Regions from separate parts of the Homo sapiens genome. Here region 2 is linked to region 1. The links are contacts of gene promoters, found by promoter capture Hi-C in blood cells and fetal thymus (Javierre and others, 2016). All regions are on one chromosome and are shown on one strand. The core of a region is centred on a gene start or on the middle of the fragment in contact, and the rest is flanking DNA. Distances in the headings are between cores, read along the strand shown.

Region 1 (6,160 bases), core at 3,661-6,160:
CACTTCGGTGTCTGTCTCCCTACCTAATGGATTTACCTTTGCTTTTCCCTATCTGGTAGAATAAAACCCTCTCAAGTCCAAGCTACCTTCCCAGGAGGTCCTTTGTGAGGGCAGAAGGAGAAGCATAGGTGCAGGAGGATACAGGCTTTGGGAGACAGGCAGACCTGGGTGCAAATCTTGGACCTGCCACTTATCTAGCTATGTGACCTTGGGCAAGCACATTCACCTTTCTGAGCCACTGTCTCTCTGTCTATAAAAGGGATCAGCGGGAAAATGTGTAAGAAGGCAAACAGGACTTGGCAAACAGAACTCAATGAATGATGATGGTGGCGGTGGCGCTGAGTGCTTCTGAGTTAGAGAGTAGCCCATCCTGGAGGCCTTTGAAATCCCCACCCCTGTAAGGACTCATGCCTTAGATCCTGATGCTCCTCACATTCCTGACAACAGCCTCAGCAGGGACCACTCAACTCACTTGGTACCACCTATCCCACTCAACAGGGGCTACATCACATTACAGCACATAAAAATAACTGTTTCCCACACCATTTTCCATCCCTTGTCCCCTTTGACTCTCCCAGCTGTGAGGTAGATGGATGGTATTTTCCTCCCAATTTAATAGAAGAGACAGCTGAGACAGAGTGAAGGTAGGAGAAGTCAGGGCAAGGATTGAGCCTGGTCTTGATTCTGAATCCCCTGTGCTTTCCTTGTATCACCTGAATCTCAAGCAATACTTTGGGCTCCAGACTCTCTGAGGGGAGGAGAAGGAGAAGGGATGTTCTATGTGTGTGACTGCAAAGTCCTCACCACACCTTCTAGGCACTTATGAGCAAGGAGATACATATTATGAAATGTGGCATTTGGGAATGTTCTAAGACCACCCTAATGCTATTAAGAGTGCCGGGCGCGGTGGCTCACACCTGTAATCCCAGCACTTTGGGAGACCAAGTCGGGCGGATCATGAGGTCAGGAGTTCGAGACCAGCCTGACCAATATGGTGAAACCCTGTCTCTACTAAAAATACAAAAATTAGCCGGGTGTGGTGGCGTGCGCCTGTAGTCCCAGCTACTCAGGAGACTGAGACAGAAGAATCGTTTGAACCCAGGAGGTGGAGGTTGCGGTGAGCCGAGATCACAACACTGCACTCCACCCTGGGCGACGGAGTGAGACTCCATCCCAAAAAAAAAAAAGAGAGAGAGGGCAGAGTGGACAGAGAGTCAAATGAGAGGAGGTCTGGGTTCTGGCCATAGGCCAGCTACTGACATCCCAAGTAAACGTGAGCAAGTTTCTGAGGTCCCCATGATCCCCATGTCTGGGACATAAATGGGAAAAAGATGATAGATAGATAATAAATAGAGGCTCAGCTTAGACAAAAAGGCATCTGCAATCCTTGTCATCATTACTTTGACTTTGAAATCAACAATTTAGAGAGCCCACTACCACGAAATTAAAAAATTCTAAAATTTTTTAAAAAACAAAACAGTATAACTTAAAGAGTTCTGCCAACTTCTCAAAAAAAAAAAAATCAGAGAGCACAACATTGAATTTTTTTTTCTTTTTTTTATTTTGGCAGAGGAAGATTGAGTTCCTGGAAATGCTTACAAAATGATTCCTGACACTGGGAGGAGATAGTTAGAAAAAAGAAGAAGAAAAATTATACACATATATAGATAAAGGAAGAAGGTGGAAAGAAAGGGAATAGACAAAAGAAAATAAAGAACTAAAAGAGAAAGAAAAAAAAAGACTTTAAAGGGCCCCAATTGAAGCAACATTATCAAGTTCTCAGCATCTGCAATTCACAAGCCGCTCGCGGTTGGGGCGATGCAGACCCCGCCCCTTTCTCGGGTGTCCGGCGCTCATTGGTGGGGGAGGCAGTCGCCGGCCGGTGACTGCCCGAGGAAAGGTTGCCTGGGACACGCATCCCTGTGTGAACGCATGACGTCCCACCCTGGCGCCAGGCTGTCTGGGGCTGAGTCTTAGATCAACACAGCTGTGGGACCGGGACCCACAGCTGGGCAAAGGAGCGGATTCCTCAACAAAAAATAGGATTGTGAGAAAAGTTCTGAAACAAAAACAGCGCAGACAAAAGCCTTAATGACATCCTTTCATAAAAATAAAAAATGCAAGAGGGGGGAAAAAGCTGGTAAAAGGAGCAGAACTGGGAACAGAAAGTTCAGAGGCATTTGGAATAAGAGGCTGAGGCCCCACCACTGCTAAACAAGTTGCAGAAGGCCTGAGCTAGCCTGTCCAGTCTGCTGTGGGGAAAAAGAAGTCTCTTGGGTTTAAACACTATTCAGTGTTCCTAACCATAACCTGCTTCTTTCAGAATTAGAATCTTAGGCTAGAGAGGACCATTAAAGGGCACTTGCTTCCTCCCAACCTACCCACTATCTTTTTTTTTTTTTTTTTTTTAAAGAGAAAATGAAGCCCAGGAAGGGAGGAAATTCGTCCAAGGGCACACTGCAAATTATTGGCATGCACAGAACAGAATTTTGCTTGCTAATTCCACAGCATCCTTCTGCCTTATGTCACACAGCCCATGGGCATTTCAGCCTGGAAGCATCCTGGGAAATAATAAATGCGAAGGTGCTTTGCAAACCTAAATCACTATACAAGCCTGAGGCATCAGCTGCAGTAGTAGAGGAAGGAAAAGAAGGGAGGAGAATCTGGGTAGACTGAGCACCTTCCACACAACTGGCCCATGCTGGGTCCCCCAGGCAGTAAGAAGACTAAGATCAGATGGAGTGAACACATCAAGTGCTTTGCAGAGAAGAGGCATTCAATAATTATCGAATGAATGAATGAGTAGACCCAATTAGTTCCATTTTATAGATGGGAAAATAGAAGCACCCAGGATAACTCAGCCAAAGTCTACACAATTAGTTTAAACAAAAAAAGAAGAAGAAGAAGAAGAATGGGCATTTGCACAGAAATCTGCCTGGCCCGTGATTTTTCTAGAACCCTCTGGACTTGACCGTTTTGCCACAGAAGTCTGCAAGATAGGAAAAGAAGGATCTTCTCTTCGGTTATTCAGGAGTTCCTACAGCCATTATTTTGCCTTTCCTGACCAAATAGCTGGCACTTGACGGCTGTAGCATGTAAAGACTGACTTGCCCACTCACAGGTTTTCTTCCTCTTTTCTTACTGAAGAGCCTGTCCTTGAAAAAAACATTCCAGGAAGAAATCTTTCTTGGGCCACAGAGCCCTGTGGTTTGATGGAAAAGAACGAGGCTTCAAGACTGGCTCTGCTATTACTTGTAGTGTGACATTGGGCATGTCTTAAATGCCTTCCTTGGGCCCCTCAGCATCTTTCACCTACATATCCAAATTTCACACAACCTTGGACTTCTACAATTGGAAAGGATTTTAAATAATCACTTAGTACCATCGTCTATTTTACTCACAAGGCAATTAAAGCCAGAGTACCTGGGCTTGTTCAAGATTACATGACAAATTATTGTCAGGGCTAGCATGATGAACCCAGGGCTCTCAATTCCCAGTCAGTGTCCTTTTCAACCGTTTTGCGACTCTCTTTGGCTCTGAGCCCCCCTTGTCCTGTTAATCAGTGCCACACATTATCGAACTCTTGTTTCCTGTGTTAATCTTGTCTCCCCAAATTGTGAGATTCTTGAAAGCAGGAGCCACTGTTTTATGCGGAGGGACTCCATAAATATTCACCAATGATTCATTAGGAAAGCAACTATTGGGGGAATCCCACTTGGTCATTTCCAAAATGGAAAGCAGCATCTTGGAAGTGCAGGTCCCCAAATGTCTAGGGAGGTGACAAGAAGGCAAGCAAAGAATCAAAGAATACTGAGCACAGTGTCCTGTTGCAATACAGGACTTAGTTTGCCGGCCCTCTGGTTCCTTTCCTGGTCTTTCAGATGGAGCTGGAGCTACTTCAGCAGGGCTAAGAATAATCAAGTCCAGGTGGCCTGCCCTTCCATAGCAGAAAGGGACAGACAATAGAGCAATGAAATTACCACTGTTTTCTACACAGAGGTGTGTGGAAAGTGAAGAGAGGGGAAGTTAAGAAATTTGCTGACCCAATTGGGTGGGGGGGGGCTCTTAAAAAGGTTTATGTAGAAATTGTCCCATCTGTGCCTCCATATTTAAAACCTTGTCCAAAATTCTAATTGAACTCACAAAGCACAACTGTGCATATATTTAGTTCGTTATGGAGTTTATGGGGCAGAGGGTCCAGGCTCCTTTTTTCCCCATGCAAAAAGCATGGGCTCAAGCTTTCTTCTTTTCCCCTGTTGCTCAAATAAATAGTGTTCTTTGCTCAAACCCCCTTTCCCTCCTCCTTCTGCAATCTCAGCGCCTAGCGCAAATCTGTTTTCTTCATTGTAACCTCAGCTTCACCGCAATTAATTTTTTTTCCCTCTGGTCACAAGATAATTCCTGACGCCAGTGAGTCTGGAGGTCAGACGAACAGCAAATTGGGGAACAAGGCGGCACTAATTCCTTACAAGTTTCCCTTGAAAAATCTTTCGCTTAAAAAAAACGGGGGGTGGGGGGAGCTTCTTTGCTGTTCAGGGATTTATGACCTCGGAGGAGCTGTGGCTCGAACCAGTGTTGGGCTAAAGGCGGACTGGCAGGGGGCAGGGAAGCTCAAAGATCTGGGGTGCTGCCAGGAAAAAGCAAATTCTGGAAGTTAATGGTTTTGAGTGATTTTTAAATCCTTGCTGGCGGAGAGGCCCGCCTCTCCCCGGTATCAGCGCTTCCTCATTCTTTGAATCCGCGGCTCCGCGGTCTTCGGCGTCAGACCAGCCGGAGGAAGCCTGTTTGCAATTTAAGCGGGCTGTGAACGCCCAGGGCCGGCGGGGGCAGGGCCGAGGCGGGCCATTTTGAATAAAGAGGCGTGCCTTCCAGGCAGGCTCTATAAGTGACCGCCGCGGCGAGCGTGCGCGCGTTGCAGGTCACTGTAGCGGGACTTCTTTTGGTTTTCTTTCTCTTTGGGGCACCTCTGGACTCACTCCCCAGCATGAAGGCGCTGAGCCCGGTGCGCGGCTGCTACGAGGCGGTGTGCTGCCTGTCGGAACGCAGTCTGGCCATCGCCCGGGGCCGAGGGAAGGGCCCGGCAGCTGAGGAGCCGCTGAGCTTGCTGGACGACATGAACCACTGCTACTCCCGCCTGCGGGAACTGGTACCCGGAGTCCCGAGAGGCACTCAGCTTAGCCAGGTGGAAATCCTACAGCGCGTCATCGACTACATTCTCGACCTGCAGGTAGTCCTGGCCGAGCCAGCCCCTGGACCCCCTGATGGCCCCCACCTTCCCATCCAGGTAAGCCTCGAAGTCGGGACAGGGCTGAACACCCAGGCAAGGATGCTGCGGGACCCTCGGAGCTCCCGATTGCCTCGCGTAACTCTTCCCTCTTTTCCTCTAATCAGACAGCCGAGCTCACTCCGGAACTTGTCATCTCCAACGACAAAAGGAGCTTTTGCCACTGACTCGGCCGTGTCCTGACACCTCCAGGTGAGTATCTCCTCTCTTGGAGAGGGAGGTTTAAACGGCAAGTCCTGGAGTTGGCAGACGTTTTGAAAAATTGCCACTCACTCGGTTTAGGGAAACTGAGGCCAGAGAGGGACAAGTGACTTGCCCATGGTTGCATCAAATGAATGGCAGAGTCAGTTTCCATGTGATGTGCATTTAAGCCTTAAATGCGCCTGGGCCCTGCCCTCCCGCAGTGGCCGAGGGTCTGGCAAAGTAGACATGGGTCCGACTAAATACAAGTCTTTCTGTTCCATGTTGTATAGGGAGCTGTCTTCGGCAGCCCCCTCCCAGCTAGTGTCAATTCCAAGTAGGAGGGGTAGCGCAAGCTCCGCCTGTGGTCTTTGGCGCCAACTGGGTGGGGGCAGCGTGGGGCGCGGAGTTATCAGCTGGAGGTACAGACCAAGTTTCCTCCCTGGCGCCGGCCAGTCTGCGGACGGCCCCCGCCTCGGCACGCTCGGCGGAAACTGACTGCTCCTTGGTCTTCTTTCCTCCCCCGCCCAGAACGCAGGTGCTGGCGCCCGTTCTGCCTGGGACCCCGGGAACCTCTCCTGCCGGAAGCCGGACGGCAGGGATGGGCCCCAACTTCGCCCTGCCCACTTGACTTCACCAAATCCCTTCCTGGAGACTAAACCTGGTGCTCAGGAGCGAAGGACTGTGAACTTGTGG
Region 2 (6,160 bases), core at 446-2,945, 230 kb before region 1:
CACACCTCTTAAGGCCTCGGGTGTCTGCCACTGGCTTTCATGCCCTATTCCAGGATCATGAATGGAATGACACACTCTGAACCGAAGAGACCTTACAGATCATCTAGTTCTCCAGCCTTGAAGATGGGGAAACTGAGGCTCAAGGAAGGCATGTAAACAGCAACCTCGGGATTCCATTTAAATTCTGCCTCTCTGGATCTGCTTCCTGATATATAAAATGGTAATAACCACCCTGCCTCCTTCACAGCTTTGTTGGTAGGCTTAAATGAGGTTGTGTGAACATGGTTTATACAGTAAAATCACAGCGTGAGGTGTTAATCACGCAAAAAAGGACCTAGGAAAAATACAAAGGCCGTATCAGGAGAGCTGGACAGGCACTGGCAGTGTTAGCGCTGCCCTTCACAAGCAATGTCATGCAGACAGTGCACAAAACGCTGCCATCAAGCTGAAGTGGAAATAGGTATCAGGGACCACAGAAAAGTCAGAAGGCAGGCAAACTGAGTTGAAGGAGCATGTCCCTGAGAATGTGTGGGGATCTGCAAATAGGAAATGAGTCACACTTGACCCTCAGCCGCTTAGGACTCACTCTCCCAGCCTAACCTATACTAGTGTTTTCTTTGAACAGAAAGAAAACAGTACAGCCAGGCGCGGTGGCTCACTCCTGTAATCCCAGCACTTTGGGAGGCTGAGGCGGGCGGATCACGAGGTCAGGAGATCGAGACCATCCTGGCTAACACGGTGAAACCCTGTCTCTACTAAAAATACAAAAAATTAGCCTGGCGCTGTGGCGGGCGCCTGTAGTCCTAGCTACTCGGGGGGAGGCTGAGGCAGGAGAATGGCGTGAACCCGGGAGGCGGAGCTTGCAGTGAGCCAAGATAGTGCCACTACACTCCAGCCTGGGCAACAAAGCGAGACTCTGTCTCAAAAAAAAAAAAAAAAAAAAAAGAAAGAAAAGAAAAAGAAAACAGTACAAAGTTGGAAGCTCAACAAAGCACTTTCCCCCAGGCCCAGAGGCACTTTGGTCCTAAGTACTCAACAGGTCAGGGAGCCTACAATACCAGGATTCGGGGCAGGAAACCTTTGAGCCTATGGGACCACCACAAGCCAAGGACCCAGGACTGAATGTCAAAAGAAAATGGAGGGTAATGTCCCCACTTATGGAAGAATGAACAGTTCCTCCTGCAACCTCGATCACCTGAGACACCATGACACTTAAAACAAATTCTTCAGAGTGAAGCTTCAAATTCAGAGGCTCAGTCCCAGGAGCTGTGATTAATGCTTTAATTAGTGGAATTAGTGAAGGGCTAGTCTGCTCTAAGATTTTTAACTTTATTTTTCCCCCTACTCCAAATTTAAACATAGCCCTTCTTTTAACTCCAAAAAATGATCCAACTGAAATAAAGAGGCTGTGGCTGAGTGAATAGGACCCTTCATGCTTTTCAAGAACAGCATTTGCATTCTGGTTTATTTCAGGCTGCATTTTAGAAATTTTGAGGGCCAACAAGGTTTGGTGGTAGCAGACCTTTCCTAGGACAGGCTGGAGAAACAGTGGCTATATCCTCCAAACAACAGCATGGGCCAATGCCTCAGAGGAATTCTCCCAAAAGGATCAGATTCAACACTAATTCCCTTTATTACCTGTTCCTGTTTTCTGCAAGGGAGAGAATACTGACCATATCAAATCCCCTTTTTAGATACTTACATTCTCTTCAATTGCTAAACTGACTTTCAAAATTTAAGTCCAAAGTCTTTGGTCTACCTGGAGACCACATGAGCTGCTCAATTACTTTCCTCACCCTCATTTCTTCTGATGAGCTCCAAAATCTGTTCTCCCTTATTTTTGTAAATGTCATTCTACAAATCACTTCCTTTTGTGCAAAATGAAATATAGGGTTTTGTTGTTGTTGTTTTGAGACAAGGTCTCACTCTGTTGCCTCAGGCTGGGGTGCAGTGGCGCAATCATGGCTTACTGTAGCCTCGACCTCCTGGGCTCCAGTGATCCTCCCACCTCAGCCTCCCAAGTGGCTGGGACTACAGGTGCACGCCACCATGCCCAGTTAATTTCTGTGAAATACAGGTTTTCAACCCCACCTTCTTCTTTACTATATATGGGTGTAGGAGTGTTTTTGGCCTACTGTACAAAATTAAGCTTGACCATTCCTGGAGAAACTGATCCAGTCTTGATTTTTTTTTTTTTTTTTTTTGAGACGGAGTCTCACTCTGTCACCCAGGCTGGAGTGCAGTGGTGCAATCTCAGGTCACTGCAAGCTCCGCTTCCCGGGTTCATGCCATTCTCCTGCCTCAGCCTCCTGAGTAGCTGGGACTACAGGCTCCCGCCACCGCACCCGGCTAATTTTTTGTATTTTTGGTAGAGACGGTTTCACCGTGGTCTCGATCTCCTGACCTCGTGATCCGCCCACCTCGGCCTCCCAAAGTGCTGGGATTACAGGCGTGAGCCACCGCGCCCGGCTCCAGTCTTGATTTAATTGTGGCACTTCCTATAATCTACCTAGTCCAAAACAACAACAAAAAATTTCAAAGTTCAGTACAGTTCCCCATGAAATGAAAGTTGCATCAGTGGCTATCAAGAACTCAAAAGAAAATACAAACATTAAGTCTGGCAAGGATTTATTAGGAAGCTTATTAGTCACAGTGAATAAAAGCCATGAAAAGAAGAACTCAAATCTCCAAATTCTGGCATCGGACTTACAACACTAGTTAGAAGCTAATAAACATTAAGGAATTTCCAAGGGGAATCTTAACTAAGTCTCAATCTTACTGACCAGATTACCCACACACATAGAAATGATCCCCATGCTCTCCCCAGACTGCTTAGCTAGGCAGTGGAAAAGACCTTCTCCCCAAGCTTAAGCTATCACGCATCAGCAGGAGACTCCTGTCCTTCTAGCTATAACCACAGGACACATGTGCGTGACAGACAACTCCAAGCTGGGCAACTTGACAAGAATGCTGAACAATGAGAGGGGAAAGGAGCAAGCAGGAACAAGTGTTTTAGTTGGAGACCCTCCTGATGGCTACTACTAACACAATCCGGAGGCATCAGAAAGTTTCCTATAGCCCACAAATAGTTTCCTTTAAAAAAACAAAAACAAAAACAAAAAAACAAGTCACACAACAATCTTGCCACAAAGCAACATGACACTTGGAATCACATGGCCACATTAACTGGAAAAGCAAGTGTTACCCATGACTGCCAGATGCCACCCAGCCCAAGACCCAATTTCCACAGCGCCCTAGAGAACCACGATGGTCCCCTGGCACCTACACAACCCTCCCAGTGGTGTCGTATCTTCCGTAGGCCAGGTTTCTGCAGCAAGCCCCAAAGACAAAGCTTGGCAGAGGCTGTGGCAGCCAACTCTCTCTGGAGCCTCATCCCTTTGTCCTTCCCAACAGGTAGTCGTACATCTTCACTGACACAGCGCCTCTATGGGAGCCTTGGCCAGCCCTTAGGAAATAAAGTGTGTCTGTGGGGTAACCTGATGGACCCTATGGTCTGCTGGGTTGGCAGATGCTTCGTAATTGCAGATGGTCACCTCGTGTCGGCGAAGCTGCAAGAAAATTGAGGCTGGGTCAGCCAGCCATTAAAAGAACTGTCCTTTCCCACACCACACACATTGCGGTAGTCCTTATTCAGGTTCATTTCTAGGAGTCATCATTTAATATCTCCTTATTTTAATACTTAGATGTCATCATCTAATATCTCCCAATTTTGATACTTTTTAACTCCAGAAAGCTGCAAAGATCATTATCATTGATTCACCCTGTAACTTTGAAGATTCAGTCTCCCTACTATAATGGGGGTACCATGAGAATAGGAACTTGTCTATGGTATTATCTTATCCCTGGTTCATGAATAGAAAAGATTATCAAAAATACTCAATGAAAGCATTTGAAAGTAGAAAACTGTGAATTAATATAAATGACAATTTCAGGCTGGGCAAGGTGGCTCACACCTGTAATCCCAACATTTTGGGAGGCTGAGATGGGCAGATCACCTGAGGTCAGGAGTTCGAGACCAGCCTGGCCAACATGGTGAAACCCTGTCTCTACTAAAAATACAAAAAAATTAGCCAGGCGTGGGAGTGGGCACCTGTAATCCCAGCTACTTGGGGGGCTGAGGCAGGAGAATCACTTGAACCTGGGAGGCGGAGGTCGCAGTGAGCTGAGATATATATATATATATTATATATATTATTTATATAAAAATAACAGTTTCAACCCCCTTAAAAATACCTGTAGTTTCTCAAATGAGACGAAAAGTTTATACTGATAAAACCAAGAAAAATAATAAACTGGGAGTAATTATGACACTTGCTCTTTTCCCTTCCCTGGAAGCTCCCATCACCACAGTGTGCAGATATGTAGACATGAGGGGAAAACCTTTCCAACCCCATCTTACCTCAGTCCACTCTCCTCTCAGGCCAATATAAAAGACCTTTGTCGTATCTGCTCCGAAGTTTTTTGAAATATGAATTGAGAGATGATAGACATTTGAAAAACGAGAAATTCTAGAGGATGACAGGAATAGGGAAAGAAGGTATGAATTATAGTTCAATGAGTATCTCACCACCATGTGAAACAACAATTCAGCTCCAGCTTGTAAAAGCCAGGCAAAGTCAGAGCTCCTGAGTTCTTCCTTCTCCTTTGGACAGGCAATTAATTCAATGACCATTTACTGAGCACCTGCCAGATCCTGTCCAAGGCAGTAGGGATAAACACTGCTCCTGCCCTCAAGGAACAGGAATGAGAAATGCTGCATAACCCAGCAGGGATTCTAAAGCACATTTAGTGTTAACCTAAACTAATGGGAGACACATCTTTCCTAAAACCACCCTAGGAGTTCATTCAGATCTGCCAATTGCTTGCAAGTTAACAAGTCTGTGGCTTGCACTGAATCTCTGCCAAAAACTGACCAAGCCAAAGATCAAGTCTCCTCCACTGTTTTAACTCATTTCCAATGCTAAGAGAGCAGGAGACTGGCCAAAAATAAATGGCAAGCCCTATAAGAAGCCATAGAGAATGGAAGACAGGCCCAGTGCTTACTTTGTAGCATACTCTAATTCTCCTGTAAGATCCCGGTTCAGACTAAAGGTCTGATCTGGCTCCCTTTCTGTATCATCAAAGGACATCTGTGGAATATTCTTGTACCTGAGAAAGGAAAGGAAAGAAAAGTCAAGAAATGTGCATTATCACGTTTCAGGTTTTCAAAATTTTCTACTGACTGCTTAAATGGCTTTGGTTCTATCAATAGGAGACTGAATTTGGGGGTCATATTTTAGAAATGACATTTTATACAAGTATCTCCAAATATCTTTTTTTTTTTTTTTTTTGAGACAGAGTCTCACTGTGTCACCCAGGCTGGAGTGCAATGGTACAATCTCAGCTCACTGCAACCTCCACCTCCCAGGTTCAAGTGACTCTCATGCCTCAGCCTCCTGAGTAGCTGGGACTACAGGCGTACGCCACCATGCCCGGCAAATTTTGGTACTTTTAGTAAAGACAGGGTTTCACCATGTTGGCAATGCTGGTCTCTAACTCCCAACCTCAGGTGATCCGCCTACGTCGGTCTCCGAAAGTGCTGGAATTACAGGCATGAGCCACCGCGTCTAGCCTACAAATATCTTTAATCCAACAAAAAAAGAGCTGAGATCTGCAACATAACCCCATGGCATCTTTGAGTGGGTTAATATCACATGAGAAGCAATACACAAAGAGACGGCTCAAACTAGGTCACATGCAGCAAATGCATGGAGAAAATAAACAACTCAGCACATTCAGACCAAACTGAGGATGTTATTAAATAAAACAGCTTACTCATGGGAAAAATACATACTTTGGCAGAAACATATTACACACAGTTAAGAGATAAAAGATCAGGTAACCCAATGCTCAAGCATTTTTTTGTGTCCAAAAACCACGCCATACACTCAGTCACCTTACAGTTCTTAAAACATTTATAACATGAGGATTTCCATTTTGAAAGATCACAAAAGACTGCAATCTCACATCCAAACCGCTAGAGAGGGTGCAATGAGCCAAGATCACGCCACTGTACTCCAGCCTGGGTGACAGAGAGACTCTGTCTCAGAATAAATAAAAAGTAAACTGCTAGAGAAGAAAATGTTTTTCAAAGAGTAAT

Evidence for each region. Contacts are between HindIII fragments. The CHiCAGO score rates a contact against its expected background, and 5 or more counts as called.
Region 2: a fragment that was not itself captured here is called in contact with the fragment with the promoter of ID3 in region 1 in 1 of 17 cell types (naive B cells); the score reaches 6.0 in naive B cells.

What each region holds. Positions count from the first base shown.
Region 1 is chr1:23,558,251-23,564,410 of GRCh38, reverse strand. It overlaps ID3 (inhibitor of DNA binding 3), which reads left to right and starts at 4,910. Exons shown (of 3, transcript NM_002167.5): 1 at 4,910-5,284; 2 at 5,392-5,476; 3 at 5,996-6,160. The coding sequence starts at 4,985. The coding sequence ends at 5,451. The region is part of intron 2 of LOC124903876 (a long non-coding RNA gene); the gene reads right to left. RefSeq lists silencers at 4,597-4,843, 4,711-4,970 and an enhancer at 5,911-6,040. The HindIII fragment of the contact is 2,494 bases long and covers 4,241-6,160 here.
Region 2 is chr1:23,784,684-23,790,843 of GRCh38, reverse strand. PITHD1 (PITH domain containing 1) reads right to left here. Exons shown (of 6, transcript NM_020362.5): 4 at 5,065-5,169; 5 at 4,421-4,529; 6 at 2,612-3,569. The coding sequence ends at 3,468. It overlaps LOC105376860 (a long non-coding RNA gene), which reads left to right. Exons shown (of 2, transcript XR_947067.3): 2 at 54-230. Among named protein-coding and RNA genes, the nearest start is that of LYPLA2, 3.4 kb to the left of the region's middle. The HindIII fragment of the contact is 912 bases long and covers 1,240-2,151 here.